Regions from separate parts of the Homo sapiens genome. Here region 1 is linked to region 2. Evidence: promoter capture Hi-C in 16 types of primary human blood cells and fetal thymus (Javierre and others, 2016). All regions are on one chromosome and are shown on one strand. Each heading gives the region's core, a stretch centred on a gene start or on the middle of the fragment in contact. The rest is flanking DNA. Distances are from core to core; before and after follow the strand shown. Region 1 overlaps GATAD2B (GATA zinc finger domain containing 2B). Region 2 holds the start of SLC27A3 (solute carrier family 27 member 3).

The links. Contacts are between HindIII fragments. The CHiCAGO score rates a contact against its expected background, and 5 or more counts as called.
Region 1: a fragment that was not itself captured here is called in contact with the fragment with the promoter of SLC27A3 in region 2 in 2 of 17 cell types (monocytes and M1 macrophages); the score reaches 5.7 in monocytes.

The regions. Positions count from the first base shown.
Region 1 is chr1:153,882,010-153,888,764 of GRCh38, forward strand. The region is part of intron 1 of GATAD2B (GATA zinc finger domain containing 2B); the gene reads right to left. Among named protein-coding and RNA genes, the nearest start is that of GATAD2B, 38 kb to the right of the region's middle. The HindIII fragment of the contact is 3,746 bases long and covers 3,097-6,755 here.
Region 2 is chr1:153,773,773-153,780,373 of GRCh38, forward strand. SLC27A3 (solute carrier family 27 member 3) reads left to right here and starts at 1,635. Exons shown (of 10, transcript NM_024330.4): 1 at 1,635-2,392; 2 at 2,746-2,955; 3 at 3,290-3,448; 4 at 3,989-4,113; 5 at 4,389-4,583; 6 at 4,691-4,781; 7 at 4,915-5,113; 8 at 5,342-5,439; 9 at 5,571-5,701; 10 at 6,054-6,385. The coding sequence starts at 1,726. The coding sequence ends at 6,230. It overlaps INTS3 (integrator complex subunit 3), which reads left to right. Exons shown (of 30, transcript NM_023015.5): 30 at 1-1,036. RefSeq lists an enhancer at 2,036-2,702 and a silencer at 2,071-2,262. The HindIII fragment of the contact is 7,576 bases long and covers 1-5,166 here.

The DNA of each region.
Region 1 (6,755 bases), core at 3,720-6,219, 110 kb after region 2:
CTTACTTTTACCCATGATGCCTAGCGGGGACAGGAGGGAGGGAGAGAAAAACCAGTTGTAGCCGGTTTATAACCTCAGGACATGGAATTATCTCTTAATTTTTAAAAGTCATTTGTGGTACAAAAAAGTCTGTTAGTCTCCCCACCCTAACTATCCCCCCATCATTGCAGCCTAGTGCCAAACTTTGTCTTCATGAATGAGAGCTAGTTTCCTCTCAAATCATGATGCTTTAACTGTTTAGTTTCCAAAGCCAACATCCAAGATAGGAAATCACAGCATCAATACCAAAGCACACCCCAAATTATAACAAAATGAAGACATACTGCCCACCAAACTTCTTTTCTTTATCCCTATTGCTAGTGCTAGGGAACAGGTACTAATAAGACAGCAGGTGTATTCACTAATTTTTCTTTTTTCCTGAAGCTGTCCCACAGATAGGACATCTGATTTAACCCGATCCATTGACACCGTTCAGGGCAGCTGAATCCGCACCTAACACAAAGCATAGCAAGGTTTCACAGCAAAGTAGTCAAGACAGTACCCATGCATTCTTTAAAAACAGCTTAGGCCTTTGTTATGTATATTTTACTGCAATTTAAAAATTTTTTAATGCTTTAAGCCCAGCCATAGTATGATTGCAATATTATTCCACTTTCCTGTGTCATAGCTAGAACACTTTACTCTTTGCATTCTAGCACCTCCTCACCTACCACATCCCACTTACCACACACACATCCCTATGTCATTCTATAGACAAATCCAGATGCTAGACATACCTAAGCCTGGTCTCTGATTAACTTTCCCTTTCCTGTTTTAGAGCAACTTGTTCCAATCATTTTATAAGGACTTTTCACTTCCCCAAAGTGCTGATATGGGGTCAGAAAATAGTGGGGAAGAAATCTAAGTAAACCAAAGAGGAAGAAGGGCAATGGTAATTGTTTTCTTGGAGATCTATTGGCTGAGGACCTTTGCTCTAGGATCTTTCTCTATCTGATCAACTAGTTATAAATTGTAACAAGGAATAACAAGGGGGGAGGGATTTTCTTACTTTTCAACTGATATCTCCCATGAATATGTCATTCCAAATGCTTGCCTCATTTGGACCTCTGAAATTCACATCATAATTACTGCCTCCATCAGAGTCTCTCACAAAGCCCTTGTTCTCAAATATTAAAGTTTCTAGCAAACATGGAGAAAAATAATCTTCACCCTACGCAAAAATATTATTTCTAAATAAAAGTTTTCCTGAGCCATATAATATTAACTTCAATTTTCAGAAAACTAACACCGAGCTAAATCAAAACTAAGTAGTACTGGCCACTGGCATAAGAAATTCAACAATTTACAAACTACAAAGGAAAACCCTTTATCTACAACACAACATGAGCTTCAAGTGGTTGATACCGTACTATCTCAGTCACAATAAGGTCCTCTTAATAGGAGACCATCAGAGGTATCCAGATCTAGACACTGCTATCATTTTACAACATAAAGGAAAACATGATAAATGTCGCAAGCAAAATAGATTATTTCTTCTCATTCATCACATTTCCACAGGAAACCAATTATGAATTTTAAACTGAAGCTCACTAGTTCCATGTTGATGATGGTAAGTATGATTGTCTATTTTTTAACAACCCATTCAAAGATAATTCCCACGTGAGTCTGCTGAATACATCTGACTGCACTGGTCTTTTTTTTTTTTCTTTTTTATCAGTTTTTAATATAAAAAGCTTAGATACAATTAAGCTGTCTGTAGCAATTACCATTGATTGCCATGAGTTAAATCTTCAACATTGTAGAGGCTGAGGCAGTACTCTACGTTTACTATATCTCCCTCTATATGTTGGATTGATTAGTAGTCCAGAGGTACCTTCAGAGCCTTGGAAAATTAAGAACTATATAGTGGGCAGAGACCCTACTCTTTTCAGCTAAATCATACTCACCCAAAACCAAAGTACTTAATTGTGTGAGGTGAAAACTAAATTTAAAAATACTTCCTCTTTGCCAGGCGTGGTGGCTCACGCCTATAATCCCAGCACTTTGGGAGGCTGAGGCGGGCAGACCACCTGAGGCCCGGAGTTCGACACCAGCCTGGCCAACACGGTGAAACCCCATCTCTACTAAAAATACAAAAATTAGCCTGGCGTTGCAGGCACAGTGGCTCATGCCTATAATCCCAGCACTTTGGGAGGCCGAGGCGGGCAGATCACGAGGTCAGGAGATCAAGACCATTCTGGCTAACACGGTGAAACCCGTCTCTACTAAAAATACAAAAAAATTAGCCAGGCGTGGTGATGGCGGGTGCCTGTAGTCCCAGCTACTCCGGAGGCTGAGGCGGGAGAATGGCCTGAACCCGGGAGGCAGAGCTTGCAGTGAGCTGAGATCGCTCCACTGCACTCCAGCCTGGGCGACAGAGCGAGACTCCACCTCAAAAAAAAAATTAGCCGGGCATGGTGGCAGGTGCCTGTAATCCCAGCTACTGGGGAGGCTGAGGCAGGAGAATCGTCTGAACCTGGGAGGATGACGCTGCAGTGAGCCGAGATCGTGCCACTGCACTCCAGCCTGGGGGACAAGAGTGAGACTTCATCTCAAAAACAAAAACAAAAAAACTTCCTCTTGGTAAATATTACTCAAGTTGTGATACCCTAAAGAATACCAAATTATCTAAAGTTAAGAAAAAGATCTACATTCACTGAGCATTTAATGCACCAAGCCAGGAAGGTAGGATCTTTTCTCCATTTTCTTTTTATTTATTTCTTTTTTTCGAGACAGTCTCGCTCCGTTGCCCAGCTGGAGTGCAATGGTGCGATCTCAGCTCACTGCAACCTCTGCCTCCCGGGCTGAAGCAATTCTCCTGCCTCAGCCTCCCAAGCAGCTGGGATTACACGGGCCTGCCACCACACCCAGCTAATTTTTGTATTTTTAGTAGAGACAGGGTTTCACCATGTTGGCCAGGCTGGTCTCAAACTACTGGCCTGAAGAGATCCTCCCGCTTCGGCCTCCCAAAGTGCTGAGATTACAGGTGTGAGCCAATGTGCCCGGCCCTGTTCTCCATCTTCTGGATATGGAAATTAATTCAGTGAAATTTTAAAAAGCTTAAATGAAGTCACTCATACAGCTCACAATTAGAGGCTGGCTCCAAAGCCCATATGCTTTCCACTATACCACGATGCCTTGAGCATTTCTCAGCACTCAAAAGCCCAGTTCTCCAGGGTAACCATGCTTGCCTTGCCAATCTCCACTTTACCCACTGGATTAAAGAAAATATTAGCCAAATATGATGGAAGTAAAAACACATAAAGTCTCTGACAGACATGTATGATCTCCACTCATAGATGATTTCACCCAGGACTACTTCTGAAAAGCTAAGGACATGAGCTTCAAGTCAGTGACAAGTAAAGGAAAAATATTTAAATTTTAAAAAAGGGGCTGGGCATGGTGGCTCACACTTGCAATCCTAGCACTTTGGGAGGCAGAGGCAGGTGGATCATCTGAGGTTAGGAGTTCGAGACCAGCCTGGCCAACATGGTGAAACCCCGTCTCTACTAAAAATACAAAAACTAGCTGAGTGTGGGCTGGGCGCGGTGGCTCATGCCTGTAATCCCAGCACTTTGGGAGGCCAAGGTGGGTGGATCACGAGGAGATTGAGACCATCCTGGCTAACATGGTGAAACCCCATCTCTACTAAAAAGACAAAAAAATTAGCCGGGCGTGGTGGTGGGCACCTGTAGTCCCAGCTACTCAGGAGGCTGAGGCAGAAGAATGGTGTGAACCCAGGAGGCGGAGCTTGCAGTGAGCCAAGACGGCGCCACTGCTCTCCAGCCTGGGCGACAGAGCAAGACTCCGTCTCCAAAAAAAAAAAAAAAAAAGGAAGACTAAAGATCTAAAGATGTACAACCTAGATACAAAAAGAATTTGATAAATGCTGTCTGGGAGGATCAAATCACAAAGAATAGCATAAGAAAAGAGGTGATATCCAGGCTTAGGCAACAGAGTTCAAATTGATTGCAACTGAATGCTTAAAGGTACTCCTACAAAAGAAATGTAAACTTCATAGAACCACTTAACAAAAACTCAGTAATATCATAAACTGGCAAAAACAGTCGTTATCTTTGCCCTTTACAAATTTTATAAATAACTTGTTAAATCTTTGTCCCCATTTTAACATACAGTTATGTGTTGCTTAACAACAGGGATACATTCTGAAAAATACATGATTAGGTGATTTCACCGTTGTGTGAACATTGTAAAGTGTATTTAAACAAACCTAGATGGTATAGCCTATTGCTCCTAGGCTATAAACCTATATAGTATAGTCTGTTACTATACTGGCAATTATAACACAATGGTAAGTATTTGTTTAAACATATCTAAACATAGAAAATGTATGGCAAAAGTATGATGTTACAACCTTATGGGACTACCATTACGTGAGGCATGACTGTATATCCTTGGACTCAGCAATCAGATCAGTATTAGAACCATTACAAACGCTGAAAAATAGTTTTCCTTTTTTTTTTTTTTTTTTTTTTTGAGACGGAGTCTCGCTCTGTCGCCCAGGCTGGAGTGCAGTGGCGCTATCTCAGCTTAGTGCAAGCTCTGCCTCCCGGGTTCACGCCATTCTCCTGTCTGAGCTTCCCGACTAGCTGGGACCTCAGCCTCTCGACTAGCTGGGACTACAGGTGCCTGCCAACACGCCCGGCTAATTTTTTTTTTTTTCGTATTTTTAGTAGAGACGGGGTTTCACTGTGTTAGCGAGGATGGTCTCAATCTTCTGACCTCATGATCCGCCCACCTCAGCCTCCCAAAGCACTGGGATTACAGGCATGAGCCACTGCGTCTGGCCGAAAAATAGCTGTTTTTTTAAAAAGCCAACATTATGCTGAAACATGGCTAAATGGTTAACTTACACTTAAAATTATTCACTGGTGTCCAATAATACAAGCCAAAATTTGTTTATCTAGCTGTTAGTCCTCTCCTACTTCTTATAGTCCTGTCTGCTTTGAGTCGGTCCAGTCTATTTGGAGAAATCAGACCACAATGCTTCAAAATTACTATTACAACAACAAATCAGATCACAGAACAGCCAAACCCCATTCATATGGTCAAAAAGTTACATTTTTTCTTCATTAAACAGAAAATAGCTCAACTGGTCAAAAGAAAACATCAGTTCTTTGGAGATGAGGATTCCTCTCCACATGTTTAGAAATAGCACACCAGGCAATCAAGCACTAATACAAAGAAAACCATTTGCTTTCCCAATCCCTGATACACAAATTGGGAATCACACCCAACCTAATGTGCACTGCTGAGTTCTCTGGAAAAAGGCAGTTTAGTCTAACAAGGGAAGTCAGTTTTCAATCACTTGGGAGTTACCAATCAATGACTGATTGATTGACAAGTGAAGTAAGTGTCTACCACTATTTGGGAAGATGTATTTATCAAAATTTTGGCTAAAGTAAAAACTAGGTACACTACCTTATAATGCAGAATATGGACTAGTTCTTAACACAGACACAAGAAATGAGAACAAGACTTCGAGTCCTGAGACAGCATTTAAATTAGGGAGTACTGTTCTCAAAGTAGTACTCCTATTTTATTTTTTTTAAAGAGACAAGGTTTCGCTGTGTTGTCCCAGTGGCTGGGACTAAGGTGTGTGCCACTGTACACAGTCAAAGCATATTCCTTAATGTGTTAACTCATTATGGGTTTACAGGAAGTAAGATAACTGTAGAGGCCTTCAAGACTTCTATTGACTCAAGTATTGCAAATAAGCATAAAAAATTACTGCAGGCTGGGTGTGGTGGTTCATGCCTGTAATCTCAGTACTCTGGGAGGCCAAGGCAGCTGGATCACTTGAGGACAGGAGTTGGAAACCACCGTGGCCAACATGGTGAAACCCTGTCTCTACTAAAAATACAAAAATTAGCCGGGCATGGTGGCAGGCACCTGTAATCCCAGCTAATCAGGAGGTTAAGGCAGGAGAATCACTTGAACCTGGGAGGCGGAGGTTGCAGTGAGCTGAGATCGCGCCACTGCACTCCAGCCTGGGCAACACAGTGAGGCTCTATCTCAAAAAAAAAAAAAAAATTACTGCCATACACTACTCAATGACTTAATCATCATACAGGAACAGAGAAAATAAACAGATCAACTTTTTCATTTATCATACAGCACAAGATGTGTCTAGGCCAATCTCTTCTGTAAGGGTGGTATACATTTTCCTAAGGCAACTGGGGGATTCCACTGCCTATCCTTGGAAAAAAAACCATGAAAATCATATGGAGCATTATATTAGTATTTAATACCTACAGAATAATTTCTGTCTTCCAAAAGACAAAGTATCTCTAGTAGTGTCTACAAGATAGTACCTAACTAGAATAGTCCTAAATCCCTAACTTATTCTCATCCTGTATCAGCAGCATGCTATTGATTCCCAGTGATGAGGTGTGCAAATACTTCATTTCTTAATACTTGATTGCTGATTATTTTCATTCACTCCGATCTGTACCTTCCCTCTATCTTTGCAGGGGGACCAAGTTCTTTTTAGGCAAGTCACAAATGTTCATACTTTTCTGACAACAAAAATTAAACTTGAACATCTAAATGTGCTAACAACTGTTATCAACTAAGTGCCACAGACGAAAGAGAAAGTAGTTTTAGTAGTCACGTTTATCTCTTTTGCCACAGAGTTTCTAAGCACTTGAGTTCTACTTTTTGGCCTGGCTTTTTGCTGTTACTAAGTATCTAAG
Region 2 (6,601 bases), core at 385-2,884:
GCATCTATGACGTGGTCAGGGTGTCCATTCCTAATCATGGGGCAGATGCCACAAGCATTCAGAAAGGAGTCTGAAAGGGTGGCCACAGCCCCACGTGGTGTGCCCTGGAGGCTTAGGTTGGTCTGAGGTTGGCACCTCAATCTACACCAGAGCCCAGGGAGTCCCAGAGGCAAGTTTCACAGAATTGTCAAATGATCCCATTTCCTTGAGTCTGTTTTTTTTTTTGTTTTTTTTTGTTTTTTTTTTGGCAGAGATAATCGTGTCTTAAAAGTTGTTTTTAAATGACAATAAAACAAGCCAGAATGTCTTTTGTGCTGGAGTGTCTGCTGGCATTTGCCCCGTGCATGTATAGCTTGGTCTTGATTTGATTGGCACCCCTACTTGTAACCGCAGAACATCCCCCTTTCCCTTCCTGTTCTGCCCCCACTTTTGTCTAGAGCAGAAGGGACTTGGCTTTGGCCACTACCCATCCTTCCTGCTGCCACTGGAGGTGGGAGCCAGGCACTGATCTGTCTATGCAGAACCATCCCCCGTAGGATGAGGCCTGTCCTTACTCATTTCTCAAGAAACAAGATGCTTCCAAAAGGTCTGTCATCCTCCAGTTGAAGTCTGTGTGCCTACCAAGAATGGCCGGAGGACTCGCTGCTTGACGGGAGGGATGCTCCAGCTTGGTCTCCAGGGACAACTGTACCTGGAGATAAAGTCTGGATACCAGGGAGGGACAGAGATGCTCTTCCTTCCACAGTGTGGCCACTTGCTGGGCCATGTGAACCAGCAGAGGAGAGTTCCTTGGCTATGCTGTTGTTCCCCCGCTGTCCAGGGAGAATGGAGGTGGACTGAGGAGTGAAGTTTGGGCGAACTGCACAGAGCTGCTCCTCTTCACCCCGAAAATTTGTCTTTTTACAGAATCCAGGTTCTCCCCTCCCTCATCACTGCTGTTGCTTCCTTTGAAAGTCTAAACCACTGGAGGCTTCTTTTTCCTTCCTCTCTCCTTCCCCAGTTTCCTCTGTCCCAATTAAAACCAGGATGGAGAGCATTTGCTGGCTGGCCCCAATTATTGTACCCTTGCCCAAAGGGAGGGGCCTCTGTCGTGACCCCTCAGAAATCTGGCAGTCTGGGTTTCCACCTTTCCCCTATTTAACTCTCAGCCCCCACCCATCCCCTGGGGTTGCGGCTGGCAGGCCGGGACTTGCAGAACCAAATGGGCCAGGGGCCAAGTTCATTCTTTTGGGAGAGAGCAATGGTACCTTCCCTTAACGGGAAAACGAGAAATATTGAGGGGAAGATGGACTGCGATCCAAACGCCCTGGCTCTCAGGCCTGGACTCTAGGGCTTAGCCAGATGCCTAAACCGCCCAAGCCGAGAAACAACTTAGAAGACAGACATAACCCTGGGATTCAGGGAAGGCGCGAGCACCGCCCAGGACCTGGTAGGGTGCGAGCCGCGAGCAGTCCGGGAGGGAGCGCGCCTAGGGCGGAGCGTAGGCTGTGGGGGGAGGGCTGGGAGTCCGGGGCCGCCCCACACCCGCACTCCTCCCGGGTTTCTGCTCTCCGCCCGTGTGGAGTGGTGGGGGCCTGGGTGGGAATGGGCGTGTGCCAGCGCACGCGCGCTCCCTGGAAGGAGAAGTCTCAGCTAGAACGAGCGGCCCTAGGTTTTCGGAAGGGAGGATCAGGGATGTTTGCGAGCGGCTGGAACCAGACGGTGCCGATAGAGGAAGCGGGCTCCATGGCTGCCCTCCTGCTGCTGCCCCTGCTGCTGTTGCTACCGCTGCTGCTGCTGAAGCTACACCTCTGGCCGCAGTTGCGCTGGCTTCCGGCGGACTTGGCCTTTGCGGTGCGAGCTCTGTGCTGCAAAAGGGCTCTTCGAGCTCGCGCCCTGGCCGCGGCTGCCGCCGACCCGGAAGGTCCCGAGGGGGGCTGCAGCCTGGCCTGGCGCCTCGCGGAACTGGCCCAGCAGCGCGCCGCGCACACCTTTCTCATTCACGGCTCGCGGCGCTTTAGCTACTCAGAGGCGGAGCGCGAGAGTAACAGGGCTGCACGCGCCTTCCTACGTGCGCTAGGCTGGGACTGGGGACCCGACGGCGGCGACAGCGGCGAGGGGAGCGCTGGAGAAGGCGAGCGGGCAGCGCCGGGAGCCGGAGATGCAGCGGCCGGAAGCGGCGCGGAGTTTGCCGGAGGGGACGGTGCCGCCAGAGGTGGAGGAGCCGCCGCCCCTCTGTCACCTGGAGCAACTGTGGCGCTGCTCCTCCCCGCTGGCCCAGAGTTTCTGTGGCTCTGGTTCGGGCTGGCCAAGGCCGGCCTGCGCACTGCCTTTGTGCCCACCGCCCTGCGCCGGGGCCCCCTGCTGCACTGCCTCCGCAGCTGCGGCGCGCGCGCGCTGGTGCTGGCGCCAGGTAAGGCTGGAGCTCCGAACTGACTAAGGCGGGGCCAGCCACAGAAGGGGGCGTGTCGGAGACCACAGAAAGGCTTGGTCTCATCCCTGGGCCTGGGAAGAAGCCGACTATCCCTTGGGGTTCGAAAGTGGGTGGAGATAGGAGTCTCCGGGTTTGAGAAGGGATGAGGCTGAATCTTTGGTGCCCCAAGGATCCCCAAGGAGTCGAGTTCCAGGCCTCAGACCCAAGATGGAATGTCCATACCCTTCACCCTCATCCAAGAGCAGTGTGGGCTGGGATAGGGAGGGGACATGGGTCATAGGCTCTTCTAGGTAGAGCCAGGGCCCCGGCGTTGTGCTTTCCCACCCTTCTAGAGTTTCTGGAGTCCCTGGAGCCGGACCTGCCCGCCCTGAGAGCCATGGGGCTCCACCTGTGGGCTGCAGGCCCAGGAACCCACCCTGCTGGAATTAGCGATTTGCTGGCTGAAGTGTCCGCTGAAGTGGATGGGCCAGTGCCAGGATACCTCTCTTCCCCCCAGAGCATAACAGACACGTGCCTGTACATCTTCACCTCTGGCACCACGGGTGAGGGCCGGGCACCATACTTAGCTCCCCGAAACCAAGGCAGAGGAAGGCAGGGGTCTGCTCCCAGACCACTCCTTCAAAGCCCCCAGAGAGGATGCTGATTTCATTGGCACATCCTTTTTCTCCCCATCATTTCACTCCCCAGTCTCCTCACCTCCTACTCATTTCTCCACCTCCCCCAGACCACCCATATTTCCAGGACAGCCTGGTCTCGGTCCTCAGCTTCTGTCCTGCCTCCGCCTCTTTCTGTGGGAAACCCAGCGGGGGTGCAAACAGATAGGTAGAGCTTGGAGTTTGCCCTTCCCCTGATCGTCCCATAACTGCCACCCCACAGGCCTCCCCAAGGCTGCTCGGATCAGTCATCTGAAGATCCTGCAATGCCAGGGCTTCTATCAGCTGTGTGGTGTCCACCAGGAAGATGTGATCTACCTCGCCCTCCCACTCTACCACATGTCCGGTTCCCTGCTGGGCATCGTGGGCTGCATGGGCATTGGTCAGTCTCCCCAACCCCACCTTCATTAATTCATCCAGTAGACATTTATTAAGCACGTACTATGGTGTGAGTCCTCCAGGGTAGATAATCTAGAGGACGGATGGGGCAGAGCCCTACTCACCAGGAGCTCTGTACAATAGGGCAATGTCACCTGCCTAGACCTACAGACTGAGGAACGGTGAGGGGGGCCATACAGCCACATAACTCCAGGCTGCAGGGTCAAAGGCAGGGAAGGACTGTGTCAGTCCAGGAACAGGCAAGTAAGAGAAGAGGGAGAGAGAGACAAGGAAGTGAGAGTGTGGAGGATGAGATCTTTGGGGCTGGGAAGTAGGGAAAGGGCATTCACCTCTTCTAAGGCTGGGGACAGGGGCCGGGGGAGGGGAAAGAGGGCCAGCACGGCTTCCTGACGGTGTGACTCCCACAGTGGGCCCTTCCCAGGGAAAGACTACAGTGATGGCTGGGGTCTGGAAAGAGGGGCTTGGGCTCCCCACTCTGCTCCTAATCTTACCTCCCTTCTTCCCCCCTGCCCACTTCTGGCAGGGGCCACAGTGGTGCTGAAATCCAAGTTCTCGGCTGGTCAGTTCTGGGAAGATTGCCAGCAGCACAGGGTGACGGTGTTCCAGTACATTGGGGAGCTGTGCCGATACCTTGTCAACCAGCCCCCGGTGCGTGGGCACAGATCCTGGGCAGAGCTGCTGACACAGGGCTAGCTCACGGGGAGCAGGACAGTTGACAGGAGACAGGGAGTTGGAGGGAGAAGCAGCAAGAAGAAAATGGCAGTGTAAGATAAGGAGCCAGAGATGGCCTAGGCCATCTGATGCTTACGGCCTCTGAAGGAGGTCACAGTAGGAGGGGGTTCTGGGGAATGGGGAACAGGAATTCACTTCCGGGAGCGGGCATCTTGATGCTGAAGCTCCGGCCCCTCTCCCACTCATCTCAGAGCAAGGCAGAACGTGGCCATAAGGTCCGGCTGGCAGTGGGCAGCGGGCTGCGCCCAGATACCTGGGAGCGTTTTGTGCGGCGCTTCGGGCCCCTGCAGGTGCTGGAGACATATGGACTGACAGAGGGCAACGTGGCCACCATCAACTACACAGGACAGCGGGGCGCTGTGGGGCGTGCTTCCTGGCTTTACAAGGTGAGGGGCAGAGAGGAAACTGAAAACCCGTGGAACAGCAGAGGGCTGGCAGGAGAGGGGGCTCATGTGACTGCAATGATCCAGTACCCAGGTCTCCCTTTCCCCAGCATATCTTCCCCTTCTCCTTGATTCGCTATGATGTCACCACAGGAGAGCCAATTCGGGACCCCCAGGGGCACTGTATGGCCACATCTCCAGGTTGGTGGTGTTCTGGTGGGGTGGGCGGGGTGCTGAAGCTGGCACAGGAGGACTGGAATTGGAGACTGGGGTGGATGGGGGCAGAAGGCTCTGGGAAAGGTGACACCACTCCTGACCCTGGTGACTCTGCCAGGTGAGCCAGGGCTGCTGGTGGCCCCGGTAAGCCAGCAGTCCCCATTCCTGGGCTATGCTGGCGGGCCAGAGCTGGCCCAGGGGAAGTTGCTAAAGGATGTCTTCCGGCCTGGGGATGTTTTCTTCAACACTGGGGACCTGCTGGTCTGCGATGACCAAGGTTTTCTCCGCTTCCATGATCGTACTGGAGACACCTTCAGGTATCTGTCCATAACTGGTTTTTCATCCTGGACATCTGATCTCTGTGATCCAAAGCTTCTGAACCTCAACTCTCTAATCTGCCACCTCAACCTGGGTCCTAAGCTAATCTCTCATTCTCAGATCTCACCATTTCATCCCTGTGACACTGACCTCTGACCTCATCTCCCCACCAAGCCCATAAGGCCCTGACCCCTGACTCCCAGTTTCAGATCTCTGCTCTCTGACAGGTGGAAGGGGGAGAATGTGGCCACAACCGAGGTGGCAGAGGTCTTCGAGGCCCTAGATTTTCTTCAGGAGGTGAACGTCTATGGAGTCACTGTGCCAGGTGCCTAGGCATGGAAGGTGGGGGAGGCACCCAGCCACCACCCCGAATTGGTAGTACTTGGGCGCAGGGAGCACGAGGCCTTCGTGGTGGTCAGCCATGGAGGGGCTTACTCTGTCTCCCACACCCACCAGGGCATGAAGGCAGGGCTGGAATGGCAGCCCTAGTTCTGCGTCCCCCCCACGCTTTGGACCTTATGCAGCTCTACACCCACGTGTCTGAGAACTTGCCACCTTATGCCCGGCCCCGATTCCTCAGGCTCCAGGTAACCGGCCACTTCCCCCGCCGGCCCCTCACCCCATATATCCTCACCCCACATATCCACCCCGTGTATCAACTTAGGAGTTTGATGGCTCCCAAACTCCACAAAGGGACCCCCAACGTAATACACTCCGTGAAGAGAAAAAACACGGAGACACAAGCTCTTCACCCCACTTCTTTCCTTATCCCTGCCTTCTTCTGGCCTGGCTCTTTCTCCTCCCTGTCACCTCCTCCCCTAAACCTTGACCTCACACTCCCTTTCCCAAGACTTGCTCCTTAACAAAATTCAGGCAACTCCCCTGAACCACGTGGGCAGAGTCCCCTTCCCTCCAAATCCCTGACCCTCCTGTCCCCAGGAGTCTTTGGCCACCACAGAGACCTTCAAACAGCAGAAAGTTCGGATGGCAAATGAGGGCTTCGACCCCAGCACCCTGTCTGACCCACTGTACGTTCTGGACCAGGCTGTAGGTGCCTACCTGCCCCTCACAACTGCCCGGTACAGCGCCCTCCTGGCAGGAAACCTTCGAATCTGAGAACTTCCACACCTGAGGCACCTGAGAGAGGAACTCTGTGGGGTGGGGGCCGTTGCAGGTGTACTGGGCTGTCAGGGATCTTTTCTATACCAGAACTGCGGTCACTATTTTGTAATAAATGTGGCTGGAGCTGATCCAGCTGTCTCTGACCTACAGTATCTGTCATTATCTCTCTGTGGAACTGCTTTTTCCTTGAGAGTTTTCTCCTGGCGTGGAGCCACAGGCCCCACATTCCTGCCCTGACTGGCTGTGGGCCAGAGCCCCGTATCTGGACCTTGGTGTTTTCCTCTCAGGAGACCCTGTGTGACCTTCGTCCTTGGAGAACCTCTGGTGACTGATGTTTGTCTGTGCTCCTGTGTAGCTCGCCCCAG